Regions from separate parts of the Homo sapiens genome. Here region 1 is linked to region 2. The links are contacts of gene promoters, found by promoter capture Hi-C in blood cells and fetal thymus (Javierre and others, 2016). All regions are on one chromosome and are shown on one strand. The core of a region is centred on a gene start or on the middle of the fragment in contact, and the rest is flanking DNA. Distances in the headings are between cores, read along the strand shown. Region 1 overlaps POLQ (DNA polymerase theta). Region 2 holds the start of ADCY5 (adenylate cyclase 5).

Evidence for each region. Contacts are between HindIII fragments. The CHiCAGO score rates a contact against its expected background, and 5 or more counts as called.
Region 1: a fragment that was not itself captured here is called in contact with the fragment with the promoter of ADCY5 in region 2 in 1 of 17 cell types (monocytes); the score reaches 5.7 in monocytes.

The regions. Positions count from the first base shown.
Region 1 is chr3:121,515,665-121,521,743 of GRCh38, forward strand. It overlaps POLQ (DNA polymerase theta), which reads right to left. Exons shown (of 30, transcript NM_199420.4): 9 at 4,207-4,419. Among named protein-coding and RNA genes, the nearest start is that of POLQ, 27 kb to the right of the region's middle. The HindIII fragment of the contact is 1,489 bases long and covers 1,236-2,724 here.
Region 2 is chr3:123,447,840-123,454,368 of GRCh38, forward strand. ADCY5 (adenylate cyclase 5) reads right to left here and starts at 1,251. Exons shown (of 21, transcript NM_183357.3): 1 at 1-1,251. The coding sequence starts at 706. RefSeq lists an enhancer at 1-312. The HindIII fragment of the contact is 9,434 bases long and covers 1-5,654 here.

The DNA.
Region 1 (6,079 bases), core at 730-3,229, 1.9 Mb before region 2:
AAGGCTAGACAAGTGAAGTTCTATCCCTGCCAAAGAACACCTATAAAAGCCAAAGAGGTAGCTGTCTCCTCAAATGTGCAGATACCAACACAAGAACACAGATTACAAAGAACCAGGAAGCCAAGATACCTTCAAAAGAAACTAACAAAGCTCCAACAATGAACCCTAAAGAAATGAAGATCTGTGAAATGAGAAAGAATCCAGAATAATTATCCTAAAAAAGTCCAATGAACTACAAGGATATATGGATAAAAAATTAAATAAAATTTGGAAAACAATATACAAACAAAACAAGAAGTTTGACAAAGAAATAGAAACAATAAAAAAGAAAGAGAAATCTTAGAGATGAAGAGTACAATGAGTGAACTGAAAAATGCAATCAAAGCTTTAGCAGCAGGCTCAATCAAGCAGAAGAGAGAGAGATTAGGGAGTTGGAGGGATGAGAAGATGGTCAAAGAGTACAATGTTTCAGTTAGACAGGAAGAATAAATGATAAGTATTTGGGGGTGATATGTTAACTGGCTTAATTCCATCATTTTGCATTGTATACAGATAGCATCACTCTGTGCCTCAAAAATATATACAATTATAATTTGTCAATATCCAATTTTTAAAAATCACATGAATATAACACCTGACTCTTGCAATGGCTACAAAACAGCCCAGCTTAAGAAAGAAAACACACACATATAAATTACCTAGAAAATGAATCAACTAGCATTAGCAGCAAGATAAACAAGCCACTTTGGGCTGTTTAAAGGTCTTTCGGGGCTTTGATTCTTCAACAAAATGAACTGCCCTTTTCCTGAATGGGCAAGGTTTATAAAATGTCCAAATGAACATCAGTATATATGTACAGGTTCCTGCAACCACCTGTCTAGGGAGGACTCATCCACATCACAAGAGGGAAGTTGAAATTATTTAGAATCAAATAATTTATTACTGACTGCTGAACTTACAAATCGCTATTTTGGCACCAAGCACCATCATCCTATACTAGAAGCTTCTAAGTAGTCTATGGAAAGACTGAAGTGTCATCTAAATAAAACACCATGTGCTGTCCAGGAATATAAAATGCACAGAATTTCCAATGATGCTACACGATACAAAAAGCATGACCAAGTATTTAAGTCTCCATAGTGAATATAAACCACTATATTCCTACATTCTTCATTAGCTTGAAGTTATGAGCAAGTCATATGACATCCTGAAATACAATGATATGCAAGATCAAAAGCTTGGAAGTCTTTAAGACCTCAGAAATGAACTTATTACAGTATATTTTAGTTCTGTTTGAGAGTTGTCTGATTTAAGGCTTGATAATTAGCCCAGGGCACTAACCTTCCAATTGTTCTTTCCCATAATAAATATAAGCTAAGAACATAACAAGGCAAATAAGATCTCAGCTTATTTCTTGTCTTATTTCTCCTTATCTTCTACATTAACTAAAAGACCCTCTGTCCCGAGAGACAATTATCTATGTAAAATGGACTTATACTCCATTCCCCAGAGGTGTGAGTCCACTGAAAATTGGGGATGGACAGAGGTAGGCAAATAGGAATGGGAAGGAAGAATCTCACTCTCTTCCCTCAACTCTTTTTAAGCATATACATGCAATCTGCATATTCTGTAGGTAAAGTAAGAGAGAAACAGGATAAACGTCTCTGATGTCAGCTGTAGGAAAAATCCAACAAATTGGAAGTTTTGTTTTTTTTTTTTAAATCATCAAAATTTTCAGGGCTTAAAAGAAAGGCTGACCAATGCCCTTCAGGGATTGTAAATGGGTCATTTATTACTGGTGCTGAGACTGAAAGCTGTTCCAATAGCCATGCACATCTTCTTAAGTATTAGTGGAGCACGTGGCCACCCAAGCTAAAGATTATATTTCCCAGCCTCTCTTATAGTTGGGGAATGTAATCATGTGAAAGTTCTGGCCCATTGTATGTGAAGAGAAATACTATGTGCAACTTCTGAGCAGCGGCCTTAAAGGGCAGGGCATGCTCTTTGCTTCCTCATCTTCCCTTCCTGATGGCTGAAATGCAGATGTGATGACAGAGACTGGACTGGCCATCATATACCGAGGATAGAAACTACATTGCTGAAAATGTTAAAACAAAATAGAAGACTAGGTCCCCGACACACTACAGCCATCATATAAGGCCTAAATTACAATTACATCATATAAGGCCTAGAATAGAATTTTACTGTTATATGAGAAAGAAATTAACATCTATCTTGTTAAACACTTATTGTATTGGTTTTTGTTACAGCAGTGAATTTATATTCTAACTAATCCAGATACCAATAAATTACGGTCAATTTTTGGTATTTGTGGTAGTCATGTTCTATAAAGCTGCCACGAACACAGAATACTGAACCCTTGCTGCCAAGGAAAACAGATGATTAGGTTCCTGCAAGCCTCTAGTAAAAACATTTTCATCACTTCATCAATACAAAACCTTGTTTTATGCATGTTTCTGTTTAAAGACATCTTATTTAATGTATATAGTTGTTTACATTGAGCTCCAGCCAACAGCATTATAATTCATGCCTAAAGAAAACTTATCACATATTTTCTCCATAAGGCACATCACAGCCTTAAGGCACTAGGGAACATTAGATAGCATTTCAGTACTTTGCTTGGGGGTCATGTTAAACAGCAAAATCACCAACTAAAAGCACAAAAATGTGAAAAATATGGCACTAACTAGCCCATTAAAAAGAAGCTTGTTCACAGTATAAGAGCTGAAACAAGAACGCAGAGCTTTGGCTTGTTCAACCACAGCAGGGAAAGTGTGCTTGGAAAGATTCAAATTTTTCGCAGATCTGCATATGTCCACAAAAGCCCCAGAGGTATTATTTCGGGATTCTGAATAAATTCTGTTAAGGTGGAAAATTCAAATATGGAATCCATGAATAATGAGAACTGACATATTTGGGGACTTCATGTGACAAGTCAGTTTATTCTAAAAGTTACTTCCTCAGTGTACTACCCAGCTTCCTCTGCCCAGAATATCCATTTCCCATCCACTTTCCTTATTCTCCTGGATTTCCTAATTTCTCTTCAGTAGCCACAGAACTGTTTGCCTGTTTTGTTTTTTTTTGACATATCTAATAAAATACTGGAGTCAATTATGTCCTACAGTAGAAAGATGACAATTATGTCCTAGAGTAGAAAGTGGCAGGGAATGTTCCTCCCAAGGTTCTTCAATGTTAGATGGCTGATAATGATTTAGTTACATATAATGATACAGCACGTTAGAAATAAAATTTGCTGCCGTTTTGACATTTAATTCAAACAAACCTCTTCCTTACTGCTTAAGACAAAACTTTTGTTTGGATTGCTGGTAAAAACAATCATAACTTGCTGATACAAGGTAAAAAAAAATGAAAAGGTGTTTTTTCAGAGCCAGCACCAATTTCGAGAAAAAAGATGGGATGTCAAGTTCCTATTCCCAAAGTGTGAGGGTGCATCCCAGCATCCTTGTCTGATTTCTGAGACCAGTCACCTAAGTTGAATTAACATCTGTGAAAATTAATTAGTGCTAAAGAGTAGACTACACCTAGAAATTAAAAATCATCTTCCAGCTAAGTAATAAGAAGTCATCTTGATTTACATAATACTAAATCATTTTATTGTATACAATACGAAAGAAAAACTTAATTCAACATTTGTAGAAAATCAACAGTTGATGATATATATATATATATATATATATATGAAAATTATGCCAGGCGCGGTGGCTCAAGCCTGTAATCCCAGCACTTTGGGAGGCCGAGGCAGGCGGATCACGAGGCCAGGAGATCGAGACCATCCTGGCTAACATGGTGAGACCCCGTCTCTACTAAAAATACAAAAAAATTAGCCGGGCATGGTGGCAGGCGCCTGTAGTCCCAGCTACTTGGGAGGCTGAGGCAGGAGAATGGCATGAACCCGGAAGGCAGAGCTTGCAGTGGGCCAAGATCGCGCCACTGCACTGCAGCCTGGGCGACAGAGCGAGACTCCGTCTCAAAAAAAAAAAAAAAAAAAGAAAATTATAACTCATACTCACTATAAATATTAAGTGAATCCAAAATGATGACACTAGTGCATTGGATAATAAAGAAATACAGCATGATGAGAAACAGGTTGCCAGACACTAGTCAAATTTCAAGTAGACACTGTCCTTCAGCAATGCTGCTACAATTAAATTCAAACTCACTTACCTACTGTGTCCACTCCTTTCCTGCCAGCACGGCCAACCATCTGCTTATAAGTAAGAATATCTAGAGGTCGACCACCAAAAATAGGGGTTCGAATAATCACACGACGTGCAGGTAAATTCACCCCAGAAGAAAGAGTAGAAGTTGCCGCCAAGACCCGAATGAGACCTTGACGAAAGGCTCCTTCAATGATATCCCTCTCCTCAAAAGTAAGACCTAAAAAAAGGAGGTTTTTATATATTTATTGATATATAACGAAAATATTATACGTGTTCACTTACAAATGGATTTGAGAGTCTGCTTCAAGCCTCTGAAGATTTTTGAAACTATTGTTATGACTGTTGACAAAGGAGTCATCACAGTCTATCTCTTTAACAGCATAATCTGGCCGGGCGCGGTGGCTCATGTCTGTAATCCCAGCAGTGTGGGAGGCTGAGGCAGGTGGATCGCTTGAGGTCAGGAGTTCGAGACCAGCCTGGCCAACATGGTGAAACCCTGCCTCTACTAAAAATATAAAAATTAGCTGTGCATGGTGGTGGGTGCCTGTAATCCCAGCTAATCAGGAGGCTGAGGCAGGAGAATCACTTGAACCTGGGAGGCAGAGTTTGCAGTGAGCTGAGATCACATCACTGCACTCCAGCCTGGGCAACAGAGCGAGAAAACAACAACAACAATAACAAAAAAAGAGTAGAATCTGCTGCCTCTAGTATACCTCTACCTTATTTTCTAGACCAGGGGTCCACAAACTTTTCCTGTTCCTGTGGAAAACAGCAGGTCTCCGCTGCAACTATCCCACCCTGCCACTGTGACATGAAAGCAGCAACAGAACAAATGGGCATGACTGTGTTCCAATAAAACTTTATTTACAAAAACAGATGGTAGGCTAGACTTGACCAGCAGACTGTAACTTGCTAACCACTGTTCTAAACAATGAACTCCTTGTGGGTAGTGATATGCCTTATTCATCAAGATATCTTCAGGGCCTATGCATCACATTGGTCAGATATACCTCTGACATAAATACGTGATGAACAAAAACATGAGTAAATGAAAAACAGTGTATAGAATATATACTTAGCTGGCTCATTTTCAATTTTATTTAAAAATTTAAAGGGCTGGGGTTCTAGTTTTAAAATTAAGTGATGGGTACACAGGTGTTCACTTTTTTAGTATGCATCATAAATTACATACAATGTAAATTCTGTGTGTGTGTATATAGTAGTTTTCCCCCATCTGTGGTTTTGCTTTCTATAGTTTTAGTTACCCAAAGTCAAAAATATAAAGAGGAAAATTCCAGAAATAAGCAACTCATAAGTTTTAAATTGCATGTCCTACCACCCAGGACATGAATTATCCCTTTATTCAGTGTATCCATGCTGTATACACTACCGGCACTATATAATGTGACTATATAGGAAAGAACATAGTATATAGAGGGTTTGGTACTATCTGTGGTTTCAGGCATCCACTGAGGATCTTGGAACATATTCCTCACAAAGGACTACTATATACCATATATATACCCCCTCACACACACACATTTCTAATGCATTTAAAAGTTTTAACATGCTATGAAAAAACATCATATATGTGGGGCTGGTACTATCTATGGTTTCAGATATCCACTGGGGGTCTTGGAACATAGCTTCAGTGAACAAGGGGAGACTACTATATAGAAATAAGTAAACTGAAACAGGTTCGTTTTACTCTTCTTTAATCTATCACACAATTTCGCTCTGTCACCCAGGTTGGAGTACAGTGGCACGATCTCGGCTCACTGTAACCTCCGCCTCCTGGGTTCAAGCAATTCTCCCTGCCTCAGCCTCCTGAGAAGCTGGAATTACAGGTGCGTGCCACAACGCCCAGCTGATTTTTG
Region 2 (6,529 bases), core at 1-2,500:
GGAAGAAGTAGCGCTGGTACAGCCGCTCCAGTTTGTCCGACGGGAACTTCTTGGAGCGGAATATCTGCAGCAACGCCAGGCAGCAGGCGCCCAGGGACAGCACCGCGCCGGGCCCCGCGCCCGAGCCCGAGTCCGCCGAGCTGCCGCCATCCCCGGACCCCTCGCCGCCCTCGACGGCGCCGGCCTCCAGCTCGTCGGCCGCGCGCCCCTTGCCCCGCCGCTCCTCCAGACCCACCTCCACCGAGCGAGGGCGCACCTCCGTCCCGCCCGCCGAGGCAGCCGCCGCCGCCGAGCCGCCGCCGCCGCCCGCAGGGGGCGCCCGGGTGCTGCCCCCGCTGGCCGCGCCCCGCCGCTGCCGGCGGCTGCCGCGACCGCAGTCGTCGCCGCCGCGCTCCTGCCAGGCGGACTTGGAGCGGAAGCTGAAGCCGAAGCCCCCGGCCAGGGGGTCGTCACCGCTCAGCGGAGGATCGTCGTCGTCGTCGCTGCGCCAGCGGCTGGCCAGGCGCTGCTGCTGCTGCGGGGTCACCGCCCCCCCGGGTTTCTTGGTGGAGCCGCGGGCAGAGCCCCCGGGGGCATGGGGGTAGCCATTCGCGCGGGAATCGGCCTCGCCCCACGCAGAGCGGTGTTCGGGGCCTCCCCGGGGCGCCGGCGCCGCAGTCTTCTGCGCCGCGTAGCCCGGGGGGCTCACGCTTTTGGAGCCGGACATCCCCCCCTCGGCCTCGTCGTCTCCTTCCTCCTCCCCCGGAAGCCGGGCCGGGGGTCTCCAAGGGGAGGGCGGACGGCCGAGCAGGGGGACCAGGCTAGGGTCACACGTCGGGGGCGGCCCGGGGCCCTGCGCTGCAGCGGGGCATCTTGGCACCCCCGTCCTGAGCGGAGGAGGAGGGCACAGCCCCGAGGTGAGAAGTAGCTGAGGATCCGCGTCAGAAGTCCCAGGTCCGAAATGGAGTTGCCTCCGAGGTGGGGTCGCAGGGACTGGTCTGGCTGCTGCTGCGCCGCACGCGGAGAGACGTCCGGGATCCTGGCTCGCGTCGAGCTCGACGAGGGCCGGAGTTGCGGACGAGACGGGACGGAGTGGTGTCCTTGCGGGCGGTGCCTCCTCGGGCCGGCAGTGCCCGGGCGCGGCGCTCGCTGATTCCGCCTAAGCGGAGCCCAGCTGCTCTCGGGGCTCGGCGGCGGCGAGGGCGGCTCGGCGGGGGTCCCGGCGAAGAGACACTGCGGGTGCGCTTTCCTCGCAGCGGACTGGGAGCGACTGGGAGGTGCGGGCGCCAGCCAGCATTATTTTCTTACGAGGGGTGGGGAGGTGGGATGGGAGGTGGAGAGGACGGGGGAGGGGGCGACGGGCGGAGCAACAGCTCCGGAGCCCCGGGGGGGAGGGTCCTGGAGCCCGGGGGGGCCGTTGCCCGCATCCCCCACCTCTCGCGGCGAGAGTGGATGCGTGGCCCCGGCGAAAGCCGAGCCGAGCCTTCGGCGCGTCCGCGCAGGGGGCGGGGTCCGGGTCAGGGACCGGCTCCTGCGGTGCGGCCCTTCCCCTCTCGCCTCTCCCTTTCCCGCAAACGGAGCGGGGCCGGCCGGGACCTGCCGGCCCGGAGAGCTGTCGCGCCCGCTTCGCAAGCCCCAAGCTCCTCGTCGCCGGCTGCGGGCCCACCGCGGCCGGCGCGGAACGACTAGGCGGAGGACGGAATCCGGCGCAGCGCTGCCGCGGTTCTGCCCCGACGCAGGCAGGCTTCTCCCGGGGAGTAAGGCATCCAGAGATCCAGCGCCGGGGCTCAGAAGCAGCCGGCCCAGAGGGGCCCGCCTGAGAGCCGCGGCGCCCGAGAGGCGCTCCGGGGGGGCCCGCGGGAGCCCGGCTCAGGGCGCGCCATGCACGCTTCGGGCCCTGCGCCGCTCCGGCCGCTCGCGCCGCTCCTCCCTTCTCGCCCGCTCGCCGCCGCCGGAGAGCCCTCCGCATCCCCTCCTCCCGCTGCCTCCCCGCCCCCCGCGCCGCCCGGGCCTCGGCTCACAGCCGCGCGAGGCCGCCTCCGCCCCCGGCCTGGCCATGGCCCCAGCCTCGGCGCCCCGCGGGCATCCTCAGGCCTGGCCGCGGGCACCCCAGTTCCCCTTCCTCACCTAAAATTCTCGCTGCGCCCCTCCCTCCCTGGGACTAGGAGCCGCATCCAGCCTGCGGTCCCGTCACCAGACCTGGGTGGAGCGCGGTCTTCCCCCGCCCCCGGCCAGGGCTCCAGCGCCCCCAGTCCTAGCTCCCCTCTTTTGTATCCCCCTTTAATCCCCCTCCCCCCATTTAACCCAACTTCAGCCCCGGCGCTGCGCCCCCCTTCCCTGGCCCGGCTCGATTGGCCGCTTCCGGAGCTGTCAGACTACAGTCCGGCGCTCTTATTGGGCGATTCTCTGGCCCGGCGGCTGTGCCAAAGGAGGGCGCACCGGGTGGGGGGCGCCTGGGCAGCGAGTGCCTCAAGGAGAAGGAGAACAGAGTCCCTGGAGGGGTCTCAGGGGCCGGAGAGCCAGACCCGGAAATGGACAGGGGAGATGCAGAAACAGGACTTCTGAGACGCAGGAAGACAGTGATGGAAAAGATGGTGATGCAGTGGGTGAGGCCGATGCAGCCGGGGCGGGGCGGACAGGGAGGCTTTGGTGGGTAGTTACCAGGAGAAAGCCCCACAGTGAACACTGGAAACACCTGGCTTTTATAAAGCGCTCTTTGCCTGTTCGTAAAGTCTCATAAATCTCACTTGGTTCCCGTCAGTAATCCTAGGATGAGACAGAGGACAGAGACCGTGTAGCTATTCCCAGCTTATAGATGCAGAAACTGAGGCTCTGGGAGCTTATTCAACTTGCTATAGGTCACACAGGTCTACTAACTTGGCACCCAAAGGTCCTTCGTCAGCGCCAGACTGCCTCCCTAACCTAACAAGGTGTTAGCAGGAAGGATGGGCACCTGAGCAAGCTGGCGTGCCCACTTGGGGGGAAGCAGGGGAAGGGGAAAATGGCTAGATACACAGCACCAGCCACAAGAGGCAGGAATGGAGAGAAGGATTCGACTGCTAGGCAAAAAGGACGTAGGCCTGTAGAATGATGTGTCTACCCAATTCCCTTTGCCCCCAAGCTGTCCTGCTGGAGTTCTGACAGTCTAAACCCTGGAGAGGTGGGAGACCACACTCCTACCCAGCCTGGGGGTAAACAGCTTTTACTTTCCCCTTCTTCATCCTCCAACTCTCTCCCCAGAGCTTCTGACAGGGAGCCTAGAGGTCTAAGTGAGCTTCCTTCTTTGTCTCTCTCTGCTGGTCATCTCTGCAGACTGGAAGATAAACCTTGCCAGAGTTACAAATTGGGAGGAGAAAAATTCCAAGAGGTCAGAATAAACTAACCCTTGGGTAATCCAGCCTTTGAGTATTCCACTATTAGCCAAGTTGTAAAAAAAAACATGAATTTAGTCAATAAAAATTCTAGAGAACCCTCAATGTACAAAGCATTGTGCTAGTTGCTACCAGGATAGAGAGATGACCAAACTCTAGACCGGGAACAAGTCGAACAAGTCAGTGACGGAGAAGAGCTAGCCACTATCTCTAGGTCAGAGCAAAGTTCTGGGTTCAATAGAAGTGCAAACAGCACCTCGGGCATTCAGAGAGAGGGGGTGTCACTTCCCACTGTGAGGGCCAAACAAGGGCCTGGAAGTCAAACCTGGGTCTAGCAGGGAAGGATGTCTAAGAAAGGGAGGATGGACTAATTAATATTTACTAAGCAACTGTTGTATGTCTGTAAACATTTTATTGTCAGATAACTATTCTGAGGAAGGTTATCCCCACTATAAAGATGAGAAAACAGACTTAGGGAATCAAAAAGTTTGTCCAGCCAGGCATGGTGGCTCATGCCTGTAACCCCAGCACTTTGGGAGGCTGAGGCAGGCAGATCATCTGAGGTCTGGCGCTCATGACCAGCCTGGCCAACATGGTGAAACCCGTCTCTACTAAAAATACAAAAATTAGCCGGGCGTGGCGGTGTGAGCCTGTAATCCTACTCTGGAGGCTGAGGCAGGAGAATCACTTGAATCCGGGAGGTGGAGGTTGCAGTGAGCCGAGATCATGCCATTGCACTCCAGCCTGGTTGACAGAATGAGACTCTGTCTCAAAAAAAAAATAAAAAATAAAAAGGCCGGGCATGGTGGCTCACGACTCTAATCCTAGCACTTTGGGAGGCCAAGGCAGGCGGATCACGAGGTCAAGAGATCGAAACCATCCTGGCCAACGTGGTGAAACCCTGTCTCTACTAAAAATACAAAAATTAGCTAGGCGTGGTGGTGTGTGCCTGTAGTCCCAGCTACTTGGGAGGCTGAGGCAGGAGAATTGCTTGAACCCAGAAGGTGGAAGTTGCAGTGAGCCAAGGTTGCACCACTGCACTCCAGCCTGGCAACACAGCAATACTCTGTCTCAAAAAAAATAAAATAAAATTATTTATATATATATATATATATATATATGAGTTTGCCCAAAGCTCATAGTTGTAGCAGTCTGCTCGTTGTATTCTACCATGCAGCAATGTAGCAGATATGACATGGGTGGCACCCTCAAGACATAGTCAACTGCACGGACAGGGGCCACAGGGCCAGAGGTATCAAGGCTATTGATCAAGGTTCCATCCTTGATCCTCTCATCTTCTCATTCCCAGAGCTATCCCTAAGTCATTCCTCTTAATTTTATTCAATTTTTAAAAATAATTGTCTTACAACAAAAGCCATGTATGATTGATGTGGGAAAAAAATTAAAAAGAAAGAAAACACACTCATAATCATATCACCAAAGAACCAGTATTGGCCGGGCGCGGTGGCTCACGCCTATAATCCCAGTACTTTGGGAGGCTGAGGAGGGCGGATCATGAGATCAGGAGTTCGAGACCAGCCTGGCCAACATGGTGAAACCCCATCTCTACTAAAAATACAAAAATTAGGCAGGCGTGGTCATGGGCACCTGTAATCCCAGCTACTCGGGAGGCTGAGGCAGGAGAATCACTTGAACCCGGGAGGTGGAGGTTGCAGTGAGCCGAGACTGCACCATTGCACTCCAGCCTGGGTGAAAGAGCAAGACTCCATCTCAAAAAAAAAAAACCAGTATTAATATGTTAATTTTTTTCTTAAACAATAACTGGATCTTTTACTCTACAATTAGTTTTAGAGTCTACCATTTTCTACTTAGCAAAATATTGTGGATTTTTTTTCATGTCAATAAGCATCCATCTACAATATCCATTTTACTGTCCAAATTGCATGGGTATAGTATACTTTATTTAACCAATCCCCTACTGTTAGGCATTTTTCACTGTCATAGCAGTTTATAAATAAAAGTTTCCCCTCCTTTACTATTATAAACAGTGAGCATTTCTGTAGATAAATTTTCACACAAGCTGGGCACAGTGGCTCACATTGGTAATCTCAGCTACTCAGGAGGCTGAGGTGAGATGATCTCTTGAGCCCAGGAGTTCGAGGCCAGCCTAGGCAACATAGAGAGAATGCTGTCTCAAAAATAAATAAATGAATAAAAATTTACACATATCCTTAGGAAAAATTCCTACAAATAGAATTGCTGGGCCCAAGGATAAGCATGTTTTTTTCTCTAAGATATTTTTGAAATCTGTATCTTCAGCCCTTGCCTCCCTTCCCAGTTCCAAGCTTCCCTCTGGCTACTGGAGAGCTCCCCATCGATGCTCCTTGGGACTCACCAGATCCCAAATTCACTGTTTCTGAAAATAAGGTCATCTCCCAAGTAGCTTGCTCCTCACTCCCTTTTCATGCTGCTGGTGGAATTACCTTCGTCCAAACTCTGTGATCTTAAGAGTGATAATATCTCCTCTGCCTTGTCTTTTCGCATTTGTCTCTTCTTCCACATTCTCTTACCACAGCCTTCATCCCGATCATCCCCTTCCTTGCCTGGATAATTGCCAACTCTCCCTCCTTGCCCTCAAATCTGTCCTCCGCCTTGTCCTCATCTGATCTCACTCCCACTGAAATCATGTCCACAAAACAGCCTGTTCCTACCTGCCAGCTTTCACTGTGAGTTCACCACCTTCCTGTCACCCAGCCCCCATGAACTGCTCTTGTGCCTCTGCAGAGATAACCCTTTTTCCTCCACAAATCAAACTCAGCACCTGAGGGAAGCCCTCCCTAATACCCCTCCCCTCCCTCCACCCCTCCCCCATGCCAATAGGCACTCCCTCCTCCTCCTCTGCCCCCAGCACACCTTGCTTATATCTATTATAGCACCTGTCACATTGTATTATCTTGACTTGTTTACGGAACGGTCTCCACAGTCTGCTGAATGCCTTGAGGGTAGAGTTGGGATCTTATTCCATGCCCAGTGTTTAGCCTGGTGCCTGGCACATAGGAGGTGCCCAATAGTTGCTGGATAAACACATGGCACATCTGGGGAATGGTAAGCAAGATGGAGTCTCAGGTATATGTAGGGGAGGAGGACTTTCGACAGTGGGTGAAGATGGACAGGTGAGTTGAACTCTGGAACATAGTGCCGAGGAGGTTGGGCTTCAG